Regions from separate parts of the Homo sapiens genome. Here all the other regions are linked to region 1. The links are contacts of gene promoters, found by promoter capture Hi-C in blood cells and fetal thymus (Javierre and others, 2016). All regions are on one chromosome and are shown on one strand. Each heading gives the region's core, a stretch centred on a gene start or on the middle of the fragment in contact. The rest is flanking DNA. Distances are from core to core; before and after follow the strand shown. Region 1 holds the start of VAMP1 (vesicle associated membrane protein 1). Region 2 holds the start of C12orf57 (chromosome 12 open reading frame 57). Region 3 holds the start of LRRC23 (leucine rich repeat containing 23). Region 4 overlaps VWF (von Willebrand factor). Region 5 has its middle 4.7 kb from the start of CD9. Region 6 overlaps COPS7A (COP9 signalosome subunit 7A).

What was found. Contacts are between HindIII fragments. The CHiCAGO score rates a contact against its expected background, and 5 or more counts as called.
Region 2: a contact is called between the fragment with the promoter of C12orf57 here and the fragment with the promoter of VAMP1 in region 1, in 1 of 17 cell types (activated CD4 T cells). The highest score is 5.1, in activated CD4 T cells.
Region 3: a contact is called between the fragment with the promoter of LRRC23 here and the fragment with the promoter of VAMP1 in region 1, in 1 of 17 cell types (activated CD4 T cells). The highest score is 6.3, in activated CD4 T cells.
Region 4: a contact is called between a fragment that was not itself captured here and the fragment with the promoter of VAMP1 in region 1, in 3 of 17 cell types (M0 macrophages, M2 macrophages and naive CD8 T cells). The highest score is 6.1, in M0 macrophages.
Region 5: a fragment that was not itself captured here is called in contact with the fragment with the promoter of VAMP1 in region 1 in 6 of 17 cell types (total B cells, naive B cells, naive CD8 T cells and 3 more); the score reaches 10.2 in total B cells.
Region 6: a fragment that was not itself captured here is called in contact with the fragment with the promoter of VAMP1 in region 1 in 3 of 17 cell types (total CD8 T cells, activated CD4 T cells and naive CD8 T cells); the score reaches 6.2 in total CD8 T cells.

What each region holds. Positions count from the first base shown.
Region 1 is chr12:6,469,170-6,472,563 of GRCh38, reverse strand. It overlaps VAMP1 (vesicle associated membrane protein 1), which reads left to right and starts at 1,887. Exons shown (of 5, transcript NM_014231.5): 1 at 1,887-2,034. The coding sequence starts at 2,033. It also overlaps a transcript of TAPBPL not described here. RefSeq lists silencers at 1,336-1,595, 1,806-1,855, 2,356-2,405. The HindIII fragment of the contact is 5,218 bases long and covers 1,317-3,394 here.
Region 2 is chr12:6,942,315-6,945,708 of GRCh38, reverse strand. C12orf57 (chromosome 12 open reading frame 57) reads right to left here and starts at 1,687. Exons shown (of 3, transcript NM_138425.4): 1 at 1,536-1,687; 2 at 1,057-1,233. The coding sequence starts at 1,587. RNU7-1 (RNA, U7 small nuclear 1) reads right to left here and starts at 1,893; the gene lies at 1,831-1,893. ATN1 (atrophin 1) reads right to left here. Exons shown (of 10, transcript NM_001940.4): 10 at 3,388-3,394. RefSeq lists enhancers at 1-470, 1,031-1,180, 720-1,299, 1,191-1,310, 1,611-1,800 and 1 more and a silencer at 1,138-1,397. The HindIII fragment of the contact is 10,579 bases long and covers 1-1,748 here.
Region 3 is chr12:6,902,678-6,906,071 of GRCh38, reverse strand. LRRC23 (leucine rich repeat containing 23) reads right to left here and starts at 1,250. Exons shown (of 8, transcript NM_001135217.2): 1 at 997-1,250; 2 at 313-487; 3 at 118-227. The coding sequence starts at 438. The HindIII fragment of the contact is 20,869 bases long and covers 1-3,394 here.
Region 4 is chr12:6,051,184-6,054,577 of GRCh38, reverse strand. It overlaps VWF (von Willebrand factor), which reads left to right. Exons shown (of 52, transcript NM_000552.5): 16 at 1,795-2,035. Among named protein-coding and RNA genes, the nearest start is that of SNORA120, 13 kb to the right of the region's middle. The HindIII fragment of the contact is 7,611 bases long and covers 1-3,394 here.
Region 5 is chr12:6,193,999-6,197,392 of GRCh38, reverse strand. No RefSeq gene overlaps it. Among named protein-coding and RNA genes, the nearest start is that of CD9, 4.7 kb to the left of the region's middle. RefSeq lists a silencer at 3,248-3,297. The HindIII fragment of the contact is 278 bases long and covers 1,458-1,735 here.
Region 6 is chr12:6,725,927-6,729,320 of GRCh38, reverse strand. COPS7A (COP9 signalosome subunit 7A) reads right to left here. Exons shown (of 8, transcript NM_001164094.2): 3 at 1,320-1,395; 4 at 1,010-1,098; 5 at 1-74. Among named protein-coding and RNA genes, the nearest start is that of COPS7A, 3.6 kb to the right of the region's middle. The HindIII fragment of the contact is 1,406 bases long and covers 1,054-2,459 here.

The DNA.
Region 1 (3,394 bases), core at 638-3,137:
CTTATAATTTTTTGCAAATTTTCCCAAATTGTCATTTTTCCCCCTAACTTGCCATTTTGATGTGGTTTCAGGAGGAGAATGGGATAAACACATATGATGAATGCATTATGTTTCCAAGTGCAATTGTTTCCTTAAGAAGACTTGTGACATTTGGATAGATAACTTTGGTGGACTTTTTAGAGAATAGATGTAAAGGATGGCAAGACTGGAAGCAGAATGATGTATCATTGATCTTAGGAGGCACTTGGGTTTTTTGTGTGTGCTTGTTTGTTTGTTTTTTTGCATTTCAATATCTTCTAATTGGGATGTTTCACTTTAGCTATTAGTCAGACAGCAGTCAAACTATATTTGTCATACCTGCTCATGAGCATCAAAGCTTGCCAAATGGGTGTCTGAGGCTTGGAAGAAAACTCTAGAGCCTGGAGAGGAACACTCTTAGGAAATGCTGCATCACCAAAGCCCTTATGAAATGCACAGAGGACTACATTGCGTGGAAATTAGTGGACATCCAAGACTGAGTCAAAAAAGTGAATCATTAACAATCAGTCTCTGTGAAGTTTTAGGGATAGTTACCATGTTATTGTTTTCTATTTCCCTTTTTATGCATGCACAAGAGTGAAATATAGAAATCGGTATGTATATAAACCCATATTTTCAATACATGTAAAACAAAAATGCTAAGTGGTAAGGAAAGCATTTGTCACAGATAATTTGCAACCTTTTTTCTTTTTTTTTTTGAAACAGGGTCTTGCTCTGTTGCCCAGGCTGGAGTGCAGTGGCGTGATCTCGGCTCACTGCAACCGTCGGCTCCCGGCTTCAAGCGATTCTCTTATCTCAGCCTCACGAGTAGCTGGGATTACAGGCGCCCGCCACCATGCCTGGCTGTTTTGTATTTTTAGTAGAGACAGAGGTTTCGCCATGTTGGCCAGGCTGGTCTCGAACTCCTGATCTCAGGTAATCTGCCTGACTCGGCCTCCCAAAGTGCTGGGATTACAGGTGTGAGCCACTGCGCCCGGCCTTGTAACCTTTTTTCTTAGCGGGACATAAAATAATGGTGAATTTTCCAACTGATGGAGTCCAGGAAAGGGATAATAGTGAGCAGAGGGGAGATAATCACTGGAATGCCAAGAAGGAAAAATCAACTCGATTTGGCAGATTACTGGGGGAGAGGTAAAGGTGAAGGGGAGGAAATCTAGGATGGTTTCCACGTTTCTGGTCTGGGCAACTGAGTCGATGTGGTAACCTCGACTGGAGCAGGTTTGGGAGGGAGTTCAATTTAGGAAGGCTATGTTGAAAGAAACGAATGAACGAAAGCTTCGTGCTTGCTTTGGTGGGACGGAACCCCGCATCCGGTATCTGGCACCAGGAGCTTGTGGCTGTGTCTCGAGGCTCCTGCACCCTCTCAGAGCGTTAGTTAGAGGCGGGGCGGTGGTGCGGAGCGAGGGCCAGAGCAGGGCACCAGGGCTGGGCGCGCACCAGGAAGCCGCCGCCTCCAGCTGAATGCGCGAGTCCCGGCGCGGGGTGGGGCAGGGGCGGGCACGGTCTTCAGTAACTGCCTAGCGATTGGTTGGGAGGCACCACAAATGCCTAACAAACTGCTGAAGCGCCCTCCGAAGGGACAGACCTCATCTCCACCCCGCCCCGTCCCTCCGCCAGACTGGAGCGCAAACTATGGTCGCATTGATCACTGAAGGATCCTCACAGCAACCGCTCCTTTCCGGAGTCGGATGAGAGGAGAGTTGTGACTGGCAATTGGCAGGGGCGGGGCGGGCTAGGCCTGTAGCGCTGGGCGACCGTCCTGGGCATGGATTGGGCCGCGGGGTTGTCACCGTTATCCGGGAGGCGTGGTCAGCACTAATAAAGGCGGAGGCCGGCGCGGCAGCTGCAGTAAGTTCCAGCGCAGCTAGACCGCGGGGTAGTCGGCGCGAGGCGGAGCTTGGCAGTTCCGTCCACTTCAGCCGCAGCGTCCCTCACCGGGTGTCTCGCCGCAGCCTCCGGAGAGGAACAGACCCTCACTCTCTCTGTCAGAAAAATGTGAGTTGACTCTGGTGTGGGGGCTCGGCACCTCCTTGACAACTCTCGCCCCAAGCTCCCGATTCTGCGGGACGGAAAATGGCGCAATGCAGCAGCTGCAGCAACGCGGGGAACTACCACCGCGCGCCGCTTCCGGACCGGGCCACCCCCAGGGAGGGGGGCCAGCACCCCATTCTCGCACCAGCCACAGCTAGCACCCCACGGGCGGGGCAGGGGCGCAGGGGTCCCACAATCATTGCACCCTCTCCTCTCGTCTGAGTGGCGCCTCATTCTGGTTTTGGTATAGTGGAGACTCGGAGAGGGCGGGGGCTGGGGGTGGTGGATGGAGACAACTGGGCAGGGGACTCGAAAGGTATTTCTGTCATCTGGCTAAATCACTACTCAGCGCCTCAGGAAAGACAGTCATGGGTGCAACTGCCAGTTGGTAACTTATGTTGCCCTACAATCTCTGGATTTGTTTACCCCTCACCCAAAGTGTGATGTCTAGCCCCCCTCATGGCAGTGAGCAAAGCTGCAGAAACTTATCTGCCAGTTCTCTGGCACCAGGTGAGCAGCTCAGAAAGACTCAAGGGGTAGTGGGATAGTGGCCTGTCATCCCAAGCGGCTGTTCATACCAAGGCCATTCGTATAGGAGATGTTTTTCTATCACCGAGTCTTACCAAATAGTTGGAGGAGAAATAGGGAGAGCTGAGCTTTCCCCCTTTCCTCCAACACACACAGTTTAGTCTCCAGCAGTCTTCAACATCACCCCCTTCGCATGATCTTGAGGGAAAACTACGGCTAAACAAACGAAGTACTTCTCTGTCAAGACCTCAATATGTCTAATACAGATTTTTCTTTCTGATTACTACCCTGGCCTGGTCCTAGATGTATTTATGTTGCTTCTCTAAGTGACAAAAAAGGGAAAGATTTACTTGTGTTACATAAGGGTTGTAATTATCCCTAGATATTTTACTGTTGAGTGTTTCCAACTCCCAACAAGTAGTAAGTGAAATTGGCCTTGCAAATACTTCATAGCCATTTCACTTTTTCTTTTTGATTTCTATGGTTTTAACCAGATATGAGTGTTCTATGCATTTTGGGCAAGCCGTAGAATTCCAGTTGTTTTCATTTTGGGGAGGGGGCTTCCAGATAGTATCTACGTGGGATGAACAGAAGGCAACAGAAAAATCGTGGTGGCTAGCGGGGCATCACGAGGTCTCTGACCTTAATCTTGTCATTGGTGCTACCATCCTGGACTGCTTCCAACACTGGCTGCTACCTACTCATTGAATTTTCTGCCTTAAGTCGAGAGCTAGATTGCTTAGCTAGCTCAGTGGCAGGACAAGAGTCTTGTGGCTCCCATGACTTTGTGTCTATC
Region 2 (3,394 bases), core at 438-2,937, 470 kb before region 1:
GGGGGTGGTAGTCTAAGCATGAACTGCTCCCCCACTGGCTGGGCAGCTGTTTGCCAAACAGGACGCATGCAGGCCTCTGTCCCGTGTGGTTTGGATGATGACATTTGGTCTACACTGGGCACAACTAGATGGGATGCAGTGAATGAAAATGTCCCAAGGCAGTGTGCTTCTTGCTCTCAGGTGAACCATTTTAGCAGTTTAGTCACTGGAACCCCAAGAATGAACACGAGACCCCAGGTCTGTAGCTGGAACTCAGGAAGGCTATGAGGCAGCAGAGCTGAATCAGTCAACACCTTTGGGGAACACCAGGATCTCACCAAAAATTTAACCACCAACCCCCCCCAAACAAAAATTAGCTGAAACACCCTGGAGAGACTGCAGCCACTGCTGTCATGCAGACATGTCACTAAAAGGTGGCACAACAGCATTTAAGTCCAGCTCTGCTACTCGAGAGTCTGCACCATTAGAGTTTGCTTCCTCATCACAAAATGGAATAATAATGTGATTAACAGTACAGGTTGACCATCCTTAATTAGAAAATCCAAAATCTGAAATTATGAGTGCCAGTGTGAGGCCGAAAATGGAAAATTCCACACCTGACTTCATAGTGGGGGGTGGGGGAGACTGTAGTCAAAACGCAGTCAAAACTTTGTCTCATGCACAAAATTATTCAGACTATTATATAAAATTACCCTCAGGCTATGTGCATAAGGTGCGTGTATATGAAACAAAACAATTTCGTGTTCAGATTTAGGTCCCATCCCCCAAGATATCCATGTATATGTAAATATTCCGAAATCTGAAAAAACCCGAAACACTTCCGGTCCCAACCATTTCGGGTAAGGGATACAGAACCTCTACTGTACAAAACGCAACTCGGACGCACAAGCTCAGGGTAGACCCTGGGCTCTGAGTGCCAAGAATGTTAGTCAGATTGTGGCTGCCGCCGTGTGGCGAGAAAGGGGACAACCGCTCATGGGCCCACAGATCCGGCGCCCTCTCCCGACCCAACTCCCGCCTTCCCGCGTCTGACCCGCCTTCCCGCGTCTGACCCACCTTCCCCGTCGCAGCTGAAGCCATAGGCTTTGATAACCTCCTGCTGGATCTGCGTGGCCACGGGCAGCACGAATTGCAGCATCTTACCCATGTCGTTGCAGGCGTTATCCCGAGCCTCGTCCATGCGCACTGCATTCTCCGGGGCGGAGAACGCCTGGATCACCTCCGCGAGGACCACTGCGCGCCAGAAGCATCCCAGGGAGGCGTCCCGGGTAGGCGTCGGAGAACAGACAGCGGGCCCAGCGGAGAGCGCAAGGAATTAGTGGATTGAGGCTGTAGGTAACCCAATAAGATCCCAAGTCTTGGGGGCAAGCGCCCCACTTAGAAGGACGGTACCCGGCGTCCCCTACCCCATTTTCCCGGCGGACGTAGCCAGGTTTGTCGCCCCACATCCTCCGCCCGCATCCTCCCCAGACCAGCAGCCCATGCCTTGACTACCCCAGGCCAGCAGCCTATGCCTTGACTAGGACGATTCTCACCCTTTGCTTGCTCAGCGCTCAAGGCCGCCGGTTGGGTCGAGGCGGACGCCATAGGGCGTCTGAAGCTCTAGGTTCAGCGGAGGTAAATGGAAAACTCACGAATAAAGAGCCACGTCCTACAACCGTTCCCAACGCCCCTGGGAGCGGAAAGGAAACAGCATCCGGCGCAGCCGGAAGCGCCCAGGCGTGGCCCAAACCTTCATACCCCAAGCTTACAACTGCATCAAGACCACCAAAACTACCCATAATTTTTGCACAGTGAAAACAATCTATCATTGGCAACAAACATCATAAGAGGGGCTTTCCGGTAAAAAGCCAGAAAGCCTACTAGACAAATTCTAAAAGAGCTGTAACACTGCTGCGTATGTGTTTGGAGAGAAGATGGGATATAAAGGAACTCCACAATTGATGAGGGTGAGCTTAGGTGACTTTTTTCTTGTTCCTATTACTGTATAAACAACGACGCATGTGGTAACTTTCAGTAGGAAAAATAATATTCTAAGGAACTTACTTAAGTCATTCATTTCTAGAGTTCGCGAACATTTGTTCTCAGCCCATGCAAATGAGTTCGGTGCTGATTGGTTGAGAAAGCAGCCAGTCACAGCCCCTTCGTTGTTGTTAAGCCCGGAGACCTGGATTCGGCAGTAAAGGCCCAGAGCAAAAGCCGTTGTCGCAGTTTCCTAAAGGCCTTGTCTATTGATGAGCGATGGAGCCTAATGCCCGGCCCGATTTCCCTTCCCTTCCAGGCTTTTATCACCCACTCCCTTCTCAAACTGTAGGTGGTTAAGGATGCCAGGTACTAATCGCCTGGACCTATTAAAACTAGCCCACCCCACCCCCGCTTCATAACCGGCTTTGTTTTTTGTTTTTGAGACGGAGTCTTGCTCTGTCGCCAAGCTGGAGTGCAGCTGGGGGGGATCTTGGCTCACCATAACCTCCACCTCCCGGGTTCAAGCGATTCTCCTGCCTCAACCTCCCAAGTCGCTGGGACGACAGGCGCGCGCCACCATGCCCAGCTAATGTTTTGTTTTTAGTAGAGACAGGGTTTTGCCATGTTGGCCAAGCTGGTCTGGAACTCCTGACCTCGTGATCCGCCCGCCTCGGCCTCCCAAAGTCCTGGGATTACCAGCGTGAGCCGTCGCGCCTGGCCTCATAACCGTTTCTTAAAGTATTCCACGGAAAGGTTTCAGGACTCTGAAGCCCTTGTTCCGGAGGACTCTGGTGGCTCCTAGCAGTGAGACCCGTCTGAATAGATTCCTAGAACTGACCACGTCAGAGGTGGGCCTGTCCCAGGCCTCTAGTGTTTGGTTGGTTGGGGTGTCTTTTGTTTGTTTGTTTTGAGATAGGGCCTTGCTCTGTCACCCAGGCTAGAGTGCAGTGGTGCGATCATGACTCACTGTAGCCTCGACCCCCAAGTGATCCTCCCACCTCAGCCTCCTGAGTAGCTGGGACCACAAGTGCACCACAACCCCCAGCTGATTTTGTCTTAAGATGGGGTTTCTCTATGTTGCCCAAGCTGGTTTCCAACTCCTGGGCTCAAGCAATCCACCCGCGTCTCACAGGCATAAGCCACAGAGCCCAGACCGAGGCCTCCACTGGCGCGCAGCGGTCCTGCCCAGCCTTGGGGCAGGAGGGGGCACCAGCACCCATGGTACCGCCTCCAGCTGAGTCAAGGCTCTGGGCTCTTCAGGGATCCCCTCTCCAATTCTTCCCAGCCCCCACACCCCGTTCCTTAAGAAGGTCTGGTCTCTTCCCGCTTCCCTGCCAGGCCCTGGCTGCAGTTCTCTCTAAGCACCGCTGCACTGAGACCCAGCCTCACCCCCATATCCCGCAAAGAATAGTCACAGCCATGTTCCTGG
Region 3 (3,394 bases), core at 1-2,500, 430 kb before region 1:
TTTCCACTAGGCATGAGAAGAGTCAAACTCTCAACCAGAACACCCAGGAATGACAGTGGGAAAGGAGATAGGGGCCCTACAGTCTCACAGTCCTCATCTGGTCCCCCCAAAACGCACCTCTCTTTAACCTCCAGCTTGACATAAGCATGAGCCAGCCCATTGCCTGTCTTACAGAGCAGAGAAAGCCCTTCCTTCATCATGTCCTCCGTGAGGGGGGTGGGCAGCCACTGCAGGTAGAAGTGGAGTAAGGTGTCTCTCCCCTGCCCAACCCCCTCCTTCAGCCCTAGGACCCCTCCTTGTCCAGGCTCTCACTTCCTCAGGGAACTCTTCCCCCTCTTTTCTGTAGTCCTCCCCCTCCTCTGTCTCCTTCTCGTCCTCTTCTTTCTCAGAATCATCCTGGTCTGGCTCAGAGTCTTCTAGATCATCTTCATCTGACATCTTTCTTCCCTCCTGAAAGCTCTGGAGTCAGATAAGCTCAGTCCTCCTCCTGAAAAAGAAGGTCTCATCAGCTTCTGCCAGCCTTCAGCTCCTTCATCGTCATTGACACGTGCCACTCCCATCACCCCCATGACTTCTGACCCACCAACTCTAGGCTTCTTTCCTTATCCCTGTGAACATCTCATTTTGATTCTCAACTCCCACTTCACACTTTCCACTGAGGACCCCCTCCCTTCAGGATGTCACCCACACCCCCAGGCCTTTCCTGTCCTTCACAGTGACTCCAGCTCTCCTCCAGCAGCCGGGTGTCCCTATTTCCTGGGCTTCCCTCTCCCCCATTCTTCCCACCTCCCCCTTAAGCCATGCTCTCCAATCTTCCCTACCAATTCCTCCTCCTCTCCTCTCAGCTCCCATTGCGCCATCCGTAATCCCTGCTCCATTCATTTCTTCTACTTTTCCCTCCCCACTGGGCCAATTTCCTTGGGCCCTCTGGTACACCAGCCTAAAGCGCAGTCTCCAACCCTCCCACTCAATTCGCCTTAGCAAAGGGGCTCAGACCCTGTTTCTGCTCAATCAGAAGCAGTTCTGGAGAGGCCCTTGGTCCCGAGAGGGAAGGACTGTTTAGCAAGCGGGCGAGGGGAAGGAGGGGTTGTGTACTGCTGTTATGGCAACGGGGACGGGGCACTTGGCAACTGCAGCTCGCCACCGTTGAGAGTAGAGCGGCGACTACCTGATGCGCAAATCAGCCGGGGAGGGGATTGATCAGTAGTTGCCTGGTTACCACGCCACTTTCCCGTCCCGGGAACCCGGATGAGGCGCGGAAGGGGCGTTGGGCCGCTAATTGGCTGAGGACAAAAAGAAGTGGGCAGGGCTGAGAAGCGAGAAGAGAGGGGGCGGGGCTAGTCATTACGTCACCCAAGACCTTAAAGGGACCGGACATCTTCAATGCAAAAGTATTGTGAATTCAGGAAAAACTCGTCCTTCGAAGCAAAAAGGGCGGGGCTGCGAGGAAAAGCAAGAAACACCAAGATAAGGGGTCTTTTCCCCTTCCCCCTATAGTTTCTGCTCATTAGTTATTTTCAGGTAGACCTTTGGAAGGTGGCTTGGTGGAGCGGAAGGAGTCCAGACCCAGATACCTTAAGAACTGGGTTGGAGTCTTGGCAGATCTGCATTTGCTAGCTAAACGTACCCAAGACTCTTTGTTATCTGTAGAATTAGCTTAACTATATCAACTGACAGGGATCCAGTATGAGTTATCCTGGACTGGTTTGATGCAAACCTTTTAGTGGGTGGAAGGCAGAAAATTCAACATCTGCCCACTAAAATACTCCTGATCCAACGTTGTTATATCAGTAATCAACAGGAACTGGCATAGCCAAACCCAGGCACTCAGGCCTGTCTGACATGTTGAAGGAGATGAAAAAGATGTTGAGATGCAATAAATATTTCTGGAGAGTTTGTGCGAGACATTATGTCAAACATCTTTACAACTGATATTTAATCTCTGCAACAGTCCTGTAAGATAGACATTTGAAAGAAGAGGATACTGAGGCTCAGGGAGGTTAAGATGACACAATTCCTGCCTGGGGAAAGGGGGATGTTACCAATCTTGTTGTGGAATCTAATGTAAATGAAACAATGAGGTAACCAGGTAAGATGGCATGTGATTCATTGTTAAATTGTGCCCACAGACTTTATATAACGGCAAAGTGGTCTGGTGGAAGATGTGGTGGGCAAGAAATCAGGAAGTATTATATTACCTCCTGCCCAGGGCAGCTTGGAGGAATGTGGTTAATAGGCAAATCTGTTTACTTGGTGTCATGGAACCAGTAGGGACTTTAAAGTCAGAGACACCAGCTTCAAAACCCATCTCTACTACTTAATACCTGTGTGTCCTTCAGCAGGTTATGAAATCTTACTGAGGTCTAATTTCCACAGTCGTGAAATGGGGATTATTAAAACGTCCACCTGTAAGGATTGTTAAGGGATTAAAAGAGATAATGTGGGTAAATCGCCTTGCACTTAGTTGACCCTTAGTAAACATTTTCCTGCTCCTCCCCACCCCTGGCCTGTGTCCTTGGTACTGGGGTTGCTGTGAGGAAAAAGAAATAATAAATATGAACACTCTGAAGAGTGAGATGTGCTATACAAATGAAAGTTATTGTATTGTTGGAGTGTGGAGAAGGGAAAAATCCATGTGGTTTGATGTAGTCAAAAGAAATGGATATGAGTTTCCTTGGCCAAGAAGAAAGAGGAAGACACATTAGATGGGAAGAAAAGTTGTGATGTAAGGGTTAGGAAGGTGTCCTTGAACATACACTTTTGTTATTTTGTTTTTATTTTTGTTTTGAAATAGAGTTTCCCTCTGTCGCCCAGGATGGAGTGCGGTGGAGCAATCATAGCTCACTGCAACGTCCACCTCCTGGGCTCAAGCAGTCCTTCCGTCTCAGCCTCCTGGGTACCTGGGACTACAGGTGTGCGCCACCATGCCAAGTTAATTTTTTTGTATTTTTTGTAGAGACAAGGTTTTGCTATGTTGCCCAGGCTAGTCTCAAACTCCTGGGCTCAAGCAATCCGCCCGCCTCGGCCTTCCAAAGTGCTGGGATTATAGGCATGAGCCACTGCGCCCTGCCATGCTTTTGTTAAGCACTTAATCTGTCCCTGTGCTCCGGGACAGTAAAGCACAGAAGTCCTTATCTTTTATCTTCAAGAGGTGTACAGTTCAGTGACAAGATTAAGTACACAAGTAATTCAATATAATGAGACATGTTATAATAATCATACCCAACATTTATAGAGCTTTTACTAAGTGCTAGGGATCATTGTATAGTATATGCATATACATGATATCATATATTCGGGGCAGAGATTTCAGAGGCAGGAATCACCTGTGGTAATGCTTGGAGAAGAAAGAGCTCAATGCCTGTGCAAAGAAAGCAGGTGGTTCTGCTGGCTG
Region 4 (3,394 bases), core at 555-3,054, 420 kb after region 1:
ATGCAGTGGATACACAAGAAGTGTCTGCTAAACTGAGATGTGCATTGTTTCTTTGGGGAAGAAGGCTAAAGGAGAAATTTAATAAGGCTCCAAGCCAGCCCTAGAGATAGCCTATCAGAACAAAGAAAGTTCTCAAGTCTAGCTGCTTTTTAATGGGTAAAATGTGCCCTTGTCATTGTAGGCTCAGGTGGTTGAAAGACATCTCCATCTTTATTGTCTAACACATCCTGTCTTAACCTACACTCCCTCAGTATTCATCCAATAATCCAACCTTTCCATTCTTGCAGAGAAAAATCAATGTCTAATAGGATTAAAGAGGCCCTCCCTTCCCAGCTACCTTCAAACACCAAGTTCAGGGTGGTTGTAGGAGCGGGAGGCTGCAGGGTCTCTCCAGAGGCTCCCCACTCCATTGTTCAGGCTCACGGCCAAGGCTTACTTTTATAACATCTGTGAAATGCCCTGCCAGTAGGTTTCTGCTGGAGCAATGGATTTGAACAGAGAGGGGAAGGATTGTGATGGTCTCAGAAGAAGCATGCCCAGGGTGAGGTTCTCATTTCTTGGGCAGCAGCTGGTCTGCACAGGGAAGGCATTTTGAAAGGGCAGAATGCTCCCCACACCTTCCCTGTCCTCTACCCTGCCCATAAGGAATTTTGTCACCAGAATGCCAGAGCTTCTGAGGCCTAGGCCTTTCTCTGGAACACTCCTTCCTTCTTGGGACCGCTGAGCTGGGGCTGTTTCCTTAGCAATAAGAATAATAATTATTATCAGTGAACATTATTAGCAGTGAACATTCTCCACATGCCAGACATTCTTCTAAATGTGTTAGCTCATTCAACCTTCACAAAGACTGGGTGGATACTGTTATTCCATCCAGTGAGGATACTGCCCAAGATCACACAGCCAGCTAGTGGTGGACCTGGGCGTGAACCCAGGTATTTGGGATACAGAGCCCGTTCCCTTAGCTGCGTTGCCACTTTGCTACACTTCCTTCTGGCTTGTGTCTCTTGCAGTATTTTTCTGTGGGAGGCTAGGGAGGGTGAGGGCTGTGGGCAGATGGGTGCAGCCCATTTCGCTGTGGTAGGCATGAGTGTCCCTCCTCTTTGGGACCAGCATGTCCTCAAAGGGACTGTTTTCTTTCTAGAGAGTAAGGGTTATGAGCATGAGCTTTAGGGCTGCAGAGAGCTGAGTTCAAATCCTTCCTCTGCTTCTTCCTGTGAGGTATACCCCTAACAAGTCACTCAGCCTAAGTTTCTTGAAAGGGGGTGATGAGAGCTAACTCGGCATGAGGCATAGAGCCCACGTAAGAGCAAGGCATTCAGTAGGTGCTCCATAAATGGTACTCATTGTTGTCACGGGGTATGCCCTTGCCCGTCATTCCCAGTACTTTTTAATATTCACAGCTTCAAAACCTGCCAGGATTTCTACTACATCCTAGGCTTTGAGAATTCAGAGATGACTAATGCACATTCCCTGTGGTTGAGGAAAGGAGAAAATGTGTGCCCCCATAATTATAATACATATCTGCATGCTGAAAAATACACATTTGCTCATAGTGGGAAAGGAAGTTGATGACCATACAGATATAATTGGGGGTCACTTGGGGAAAACTGGGTAAAGGGTACATGGGATCTTTCTGCATTACTTCTTGTAATTGCAAGCAAGTCTACAATTATCTCAATAAAAATTTTAATTAAATAATTGGGGGTCACAGCTACAAGGGGTGGCAAGTCCTAGAACCACAGTCCTTGCTGTCCAACATTCCCGCTGAGGCCTTACTTCTCCTCTCTCTTCTAGAGCTGAACTGCCCGAAAGGCCAGGTGTACCTGCAGTGCGGGACCCCCTGCAACCTGACCTGCCGCTCTCTCTCTTACCCGGATGAGGAATGCAATGAGGCCTGCCTGGAGGGCTGCTTCTGCCCCCCAGGGCTCTACATGGATGAGAGGGGGGACTGCGTGCCCAAGGCCCAGTGCCCCTGTTACTATGACGGTGAGATCTTCCAGCCAGAAGACATCTTCTCAGACCATCACACCATGTGGTAAGTGCAGGCAGCAGTGTCAGGGACCTCTAAAACAGCAGAGCTGGGGAGGAAAACGGGACCCCCAAGTCCTTTACTTCATGGATGGGTAAACTGGGGCCCAAGGAAGGAAGTGACTTGTCCAGAACTGTACAGCAAGTCAGAAGCGGAGCTGGGATTTGGTCCAGGTCTTCTGACTTCCTTACTACACAGGGAACTGGGATTCCTGGCTGGCAGTAGGAGTTCTTGAGTTTTATTGCCAACTGTTATGTGTTGGCCCCCATTTCTGGGCTTTAGGTCTCAGTTTTCCTTTTCTGGAACAGGAAAAGGGAGATCTGCCTGTCACCCTCCTTTCCAGCCTGCTTTCAGTATTCTCAAGCTGAAGCATTTGAGCAGGAAGAACATGGACCACTGCAGCGCTGCCTCCATGGGGCATTGCTACCCTGACCTGCTTCATGCACTTCCCCAAAATAGCTCCAAATCATGCTTGCTTCCTGCAGCTCTTTGCCTAGGCCTTCTGTGACAGTCGGTTTCAACAGGGTTGCCATGAGCGTGGAAGAAATTTACAACAGGACATTTGTTGAGCAAACACTTACCTGTCACCTGTTCTGTCTTAGTTCTGGCTAAGAATTGGTGGTCTAAAGATGAGCCAGGCTGGGGCAGTGGCTCACATCTGTAATCCCCAGCACTTTGGGAGGTGGAAGTGGGAGGAATGCTTGAGCCTGGGAGTTTGAGAGCAGCCTGGGCAACATAGTGAGGCCCTGTCCCTAAATACAAAGAAAAAAAAATAGTTGGCCATGGTGGTGCATACCTGTAGACCCAGCCACTTGAAATACTGAGGTGGGAAGATTGCTTGAGCCCAGGAAGCCAAGGCTGCAGTGAACTGTGATCGCGCCACTGCATTCTAGCCCGGGCGACAGAGGGAAATCCAGTCACCAGACACAGTACCTGATAGTCTACTAGGGAAGACCAGTTAGAAACATCCTGATTGGCCAGGCACAGTGGCTCACGCCTGTAATCCCAACACTTAGGGAGGCCGAGGTGGGCGGATCACGAGGTCAGTAGATCGAGACCATCCTGGCTAACACGGTGAAAATACAAAAAATTAGCTGGGTGTGGTAGCGGGTGCCTGTAGTCCCAGCTATTTGGGAGGCTGAGGCAGGAGAATTGCTTGAACCCAGGAGGCGGAGGTTGCAGTGAGCTGAGATCTTGCCACTGCACTCCAGCCTGGGTGACAGAGCGAGACTCTATCTCAAAAAAAAAAAAAAAAAAAAAAAGAAAAAAAGAAGTCCTGATTATGGAAAATTTCAGACAGACATTAAAGTAGAGAGAATAGTATAAGGAGCCCCAACGTATCCATTCCCAGCTTCAATGATTATC
Region 5 (3,394 bases), core at 347-2,846, 270 kb after region 1:
ATCAAGCTGGGAACTGCCACAGGCAAACCTGCCTCCCATTCCTAAATAAGATAGCTACAAAGATTTTTTAAAAAGCTATGCACTTCTCGGCCGGGCGCAGTGGCTCACGCCTGTAATCCCAGCACTTTGGGAGGCCAAGGTGGGCGGATCACGAGGTGAGGAGATCGAGACCATCCTGGCCAACATAGTGAAACCGCATCTCTACTAAAAATACAAAAATTAGCCAGGCATGGTGGCGCATACCTATAATCCCAGCTACTCGGGAGGCAGAGGCAGGAGAATCCCTTGAACCAGGGAGTTGGAGGTTGCAGTGAGCCGAGATCGCGCCACAGCACTCTAGCCTGGCGACAGAGTGAGACTCCGTCTCAAAAAGAAAAAACAAAAAAAGCTATGCACTTCTTGTTGGGCGCTGTGACTCACACCTGTGATCCAAGCACTTTAGGAGGCCGACGCGGGAGGATCATGAGGTCAGGAGATCAAGACCATCCTGGCTAACACGGTGAAACCTCGTCTCTACTAAAAATACAAAAAAATTAGCCGGGCGTGGCGGCGGGCGCCTGTAGTCCCAGCTACTCAGGAGGCTGAGGCAGGAGAATGGCGTGAACCCGGGAGGCAGAGCTTGCAGTGAGCCGAGATCGCGCCACTGCCCTCCAGCCTGGGGGACACAGCCAGACTCCGTCTCAAAAAAAAAAAAAAAAAAAAAAGCAGCTATGCACTTCTTTCACAATTTGCCCATGAGGAAATTTCTGGTGGACCCTATGATATTTGCCCTAAAACAGTTCTGTTGAATTTCACCATGACAATGTAAATTGATAGCATATCTTCACAGGTACAGAAAAAAGGACAGAACTCAAAGTCATCCCTCTGCTCACCTGAGACAAATGCATATCTGATTGCTTCCTCCAATGTAAAAATGAAGATTCGCTGTGCTAGACAAGGCATAAGTGACTTATTTCTCTACCCTCCTCTGCCATGTAAATTGTGCATTCAGTGAGAGGATGATCAGTGACTCAAAAGAATGCAACCGTTTGTTTCTTACCTACCCACACCTTAAAAAAACTTTCTTCCTCTTTCCCCACCAGCCGCCTTTTAAATATTGAAGCCCTCAAAATCATCTTTGCAGAAGGCACAGATCTGCCTCCTGGGCGCCCATCTGTAACCTTGGCAAAATAAACTTTCTAAATTGATTGAGACCTGTCTCAGATACTTTTTGGTTCACAGCATTTTGGATCAGGAGGTGTCTTTCATTCCTCCTGACATTCTGTGTCACAATAAACCCCTGGGCCAAAGTGCATTTGTTACAGACAGTTAGTGCTACAGGCAACCAGGAAGGTGAGCGATGGAAAAATTATGTTTTGCCTTAACCGGAAGAGGAAAATATGGGTAAGCCCCTGAGTCAGAAATCACATGGAAGCAGCCAGGCCTTCCAGGCTTTGTGGTGCTGGAGTGGGAAAGCTTTTCCTCCCTTCCCTCAAGGCGTCCTGTCTCTGGGAAAGAAACCCCAGCTCAGGCTCAGGGTCCACTTTGGCTCTTGTGCCCCCCCTGGTGGTAAGATTTGAACACGCAGAGGCCAGGTGACCTAATGAGCCGTCACACCCATGCCCCAGGTCCCTCCAGCTGTGGGCAATGGCTTTGTAAGGCAACAGGTAGGACCCTCGCTCTCACAGGCCACCAAGGCCCTTCCAGCCACCACACCAGTGGCCATCTTGATTCACCTCCTTCACTTCTAGAAGCTTCTCTCCTGTTCCTCTTTCTAAGCTCAAATACACCACCTTATGAAGCCTTCCTGGAGCACTCCAGTCTTTTTCTCCGTGGATTACCTTGAGTCTCGCATGTGTGATTCTCTGGTCATCATCATCTTCCTTTATGTGTCCACTTCTTGGTAGTGAGCTCCTCGAGGGTGCACTTGCATTTGATTAATTTCTGTGCTCTCCCTAGCTCCCGGTCCCTTCCTGGCCCAGAGCAGGCCCTCTGCAAACATCTGCAGAATGACGGCTGGGCGTGGGGCTTTCTCAGGCCCCTGCCCTTCTCTCTCAGACCTCTCCTGGAGCACTCATCCCCTTTTGTGCCTTCCACCATTTTCTCTGTTTAACTCATCTCTCTGTAAATGCAAGTCCTGATATCCAAGAGCCTGCAGATTTTTTTTTTTTGAGACCAAGTCTCGCTCTGTTGCCCAGGCTGGAGTGCAGTGGCTCAATCTCGGCTCACTACAACCTCCATCCCTGGGCTCAAGAGACTCTCTTGCCTCAGCCTCCCAAGCAGATTGAATTACAGGTGTGCGCTGCCATGCCCGGCTAATAATTTTTTTTTTTTTAGACGGAGTCTCGCTTTGTCACCCAGGCTGGAGTGCAGTGGCACGATCTTGGCTCACTGCAACCTCTGCCTCCCGGGTTCAAGTGATTCTTCTGCCTCAGCCTCCCAAGTAGCTGGGACTACAGGCGCACACCACCATGCCCAGCTAATTTTTGTATTTTTAGTAGAGACGGGGTTTCACCATATTGGCCAGGCTGGTCTTGAACTCCTGAATTCGTTATCTACCCACCTCAGCCTCCCAAAGTGCTGGGATTACAGGCGTAAGCCACCGTGTTTTTTATATTTTTTATATTTTTTATATTTTTAGTAGAGATGGGGTTTCCTCCTGTTGGTCAGGCTGGTCTTGAACTCCTGGCCCCAGGTGATCCGCCCACCTCAGCCTCCCAAAGTGCTGGGATTACAGGCGTGCGCCACCGTGCCTGGCCCGTTTCCACTTCTAACGGCCCTCCAAATAGGCCCACGTTCCAATCCCCAAAACTGTGAATGTGTTACTTTCCATGGCATAGCCTGGACCATCCCAGTGGGCCCAGTGGAATCCAAAGGGTTCTTATAAGAGACAGGTGGAAGTGTCAAAGCCAGGGAAGGAGATGTGACGACAGAAGCAGAGGTCGCAGTGATGCACAGCTGTGTGTTGGGGAACAAGGACAGCCTCTAGAAGCTGGAGAAGGCGAAGAAACGAATTCTCCCCTGCAGCTGCCAGAGGGATCCAACACAGCCCTGCCCACCCATTTTAGATTTCAGACCTCTAGAATTGTGAAATAGTAAATATGTGTTACTTTAAGCCACTAAATTTGTGGTTGTTACCGAAGCAATAGGAAATATAGTAATCTCAATGTAAACATCAAGATCAGAATTCATAATCTCCAAGGGCTTTCTAGGCTCGCAGCTGACTTTCTCCTCAGCCCTCCCTGTCTCTAATCAGTCAGCACCAACACCTCCCATCACCTGGGGCTCCTCCTTCCCCCAGCCTCACAGCTGCTTAGTGAATGTGATTCCTGTTTCTTAGCTGTTCTTACGTCATTGCTGGGAGGCACCAGGGCTAAGGCGGGTTGTAGTGATTGAGTGGCAGAGCACAGATCAG
Region 6 (3,394 bases), core at 507-3,006, 260 kb before region 1:
TCAATCACAAGGTCTTCCAGCTGCCGCACATTACGCAGGGCAAGAGCCTCCAGCAACACTGCATATGGGATACACTGGGGCCGCGGAGATCAGGCCAGGATTTGTGACGCTCCGTAGTAGAGAAGGGCTTCCAAAAATCTTCCCTCCTTTTCCCCCTGCCCTAGCCCACCTGCCCTCCACTCCCATTCCTAAATCACTTCCTCTAAGAGGCTGGTTCTAAAGCAAAATAAATAAAAGTATTCCCACTTCAAAAACAGCATCATTAGAAGGACAATCTTAAATAAAATACAAAATGCTCCCCTAACACCCTCACCCCTGACACACCACAGAAGGAGAAAATGACATCTGCCTGGGTGTCACTCCTTTAGCCACAGCTCAGGGTATCACCCAGTCCTTAGTCAAGATCAGCTTGATACAGGGGAGTAAGCAGAAGTGGGAGAGGTGTGGAGTTACTGTTTATCATTTATACTCTGCCTACCTGCAACGGGCATTCCTTTGGAGGTATCTCTCAATAGAGAGCCTGGTTTAAATTAAATCCCAAGGACAACTGAGAGTCAAGTAACTATTGCGAGGTTGCAGACTGGGCAGGCTGGGGAGGTGGGTGGTGATATTAGACAAAAAACAGCCTAACAGGAATACAGAGATACTTCTAGAATATATATGTTTTATCCTAACAAAGAGAAGCCTAGCACTTCATCAGGAGAGCCCTGTTTCCAGCAGTGGGGAAGAAGGTATTGTTGAACGACACCTGAACAACATCCTAGTTGCTATTTTGACCAAAACCACAGAAGATGTTTATTTAGAACTTAAGTTGATTAAAAAATAAAAACAACACAGAAAACTAAGAATACTATCAGCCTAAACAGTTGCTAATGGAGTTTATATACAGACCTTGGAGGAGGGGAGGGCAGGAAGCAGCCACGGTCTAGACAAGGGCTGTCCTAGTGTGGACTCCCAAGGACATACAAAAGGATGCTCTAGACCGTAGGACTGGGGGACTGCCACTCACCTTTACTTTAGCAGCCAGGGTGACAACTGAGAGGTGTCGAAGCTTATTCTTCTGAGCCTCTGTTAGTGGAGGAAGATTCCGGGCTTCAGCTAGGGAAAAACGACAAAGTGTAAGGAATCCTGATTTCAGTTTTCTGGGAAGCCCTAGCCTCCTTCCCTTCCCTCCCACTTTCAATGCCAATTCAGGTCTTGACCCTGACCCTATGCATCCAGGGATCTAAGTGGGATATCCCAGGAATTTCTTCTGAGTCCCTCCAGAAATTGCCCTTCTCCCATCTCCATTACTCCAGAGCACCAACCCCTCTGGTTACCTAAGTAGTCAGCGTATGTCCCATAAGCAAACACTGTGAGCAGCCGGAAGGTAGAGGCAAAGTCACTCTCAGCCAGCTGCGAGAATGAGGAAAAAGGAGGTGACGGGAAGTCTTCCCTCTCCACCCTCCCAGCCTTACCCTGTTTGGAACTCCACTTTTTGGCCCCATCTTTCCCGGCCAATGTTAACTCTCCTGGCTCACCAAAAGGAGTTCTCTGCCTCTCTGATCACTCTTCACATAGGAAGGGCTCATTTCCACCTTCAGGCTTTTGTTTACACTATTCTCCCAAACCACAATGCCCTCTTGCTCCATACGTCATCCAATTCCTACCCTAAATTCAGAGTTGAAGACATTCAGTTTTCAGAGTCAAACAGACATACACACCAGACACTGCAAATTGTGTTGCCTGCCCTCAGAGTGTTTGATGTTTCTAAATTGGAATATGTCTAGACAGTCTCCAGTACTCCCCAATTCACCAGACTCCTGCCTCAGCCTCACTCATCTCTGACAGCTGCACAGCCTAGAAAGACATCTAAACTTATGGTCTCTGCTTCAGACACACCTGACCAGGACACTGTCTTGCATCACCCAGCCCAGTCCACCCAGATTTCCTCTCCTCCTATCATGGATCACTCATTCTGGCACTTTTTTTTTTTTTTTTTTTTGAGACAGAGTCTCCCTCTGTTACCCAGGCTGGAGTGCAGTGGCGCGATCTTGGCTCACTGCAACCTCCGCCTCCCAGGTTCAGGCAATTCTCCTGCCTCAGCCTCCCAAGCAGGTGGGATTACAGGCGTGCACCACCACACCAGGCTAATTTTTGTATTTTTAGTAGAAACAGGGTTTCGCCACATTGGCCAGGCTGGTCTCGAACTCCTGACCTCAGGTGATCCACCTGCCTTGGCCTCCCAAAGTGCTGGGATTATAGGCGTGAGCCACTGTGCTCAGCTTCATTCTGGCACTTAATCAATCAATCCTTGCAGAAGGTTGCTACCTAAGAATATCTTTCAACAAGATTATAGACCCAGTCTCAGGTATCCCACAGAGCTATGCAGTAATTGCCTCGCAAGAAATACTTGCTAAATAAATAAATAATTCAGATTTCTATCCATTCATCTTCTCTCTTCAACTGGAATGCAAGCTTCAGAAGGGTAAGCTCCATGCCTGGTGCTTTTCTTGTATTCCCAGACCATAAGAAGGGTAGTAAAGAGCCACTTAATAAGTGCTTCTTTTTCTTTTTCTTTGAGATGGTGTCTCACACTGTCACCCAGGCTGGAGTGCAGTGGCGCGACCTCGGCTCACTGCAACCTCCGCCTCCCTTTTTTTTTTTTTTAAATTATACTTTAAGTTCTGGGATACATGAGCTTTTGTTTGTTTTATTTATTTATTTATTTTTTTTTTTGAGACAGAGTCTCACTCTGTTGCCCAGGCTGGAATGCAGTGGTGCAATCTCGGCTCACTGCAACCTCCTGCCTCCCAGGTTCAAGTGATTCTCCTGCCTCAGCCTCCCGAGTAGCTGGGATTACAGGCGCCTGCCACCGCGCCCGGCTAATTTTTGTATTTTTAGCAGAGACGGGGTTTTGCCATCTTGGCCAGGCTGGTCTTGAACTCCTGACCTCATGATCCACCCACCTCGGCCTCCCAAAGTGCTGAGAACAGGCATGAGAGGCATGAGCCACCATGACTGGCCCTGTTTTTCGTTTTTGTCTTGTTTTTTGAGATGGAGTCTCGCTCTGTCGCCCAGACTGGAATGCAGTGGCTCGAACTCAACTCACTGCAACCTCAGCCTCACCCTTCCAAGCAGCTGGGACTACAGGCGCCCGCCACCACACCCGGCTAATTTTTTGTATTTTTAGTAGAGACGGGGTTTCACCATGTTAGCCAGGATGGTCTCCATCTCCTGACCTCATGATCCGCCCACCTCAGCCTCCCAAAGTGCTGGGATTACAGGCATGAGCCACCGTGCCCAGCCCTGTTTGTATTTTTAACAGAGACAGGATTCTGCCATATCGGTTTCACCTCCTGCCCTCAGGTGATCCACCTGCCTTGGCCTTCCAAAGTGCTGGGATTACAGGCAT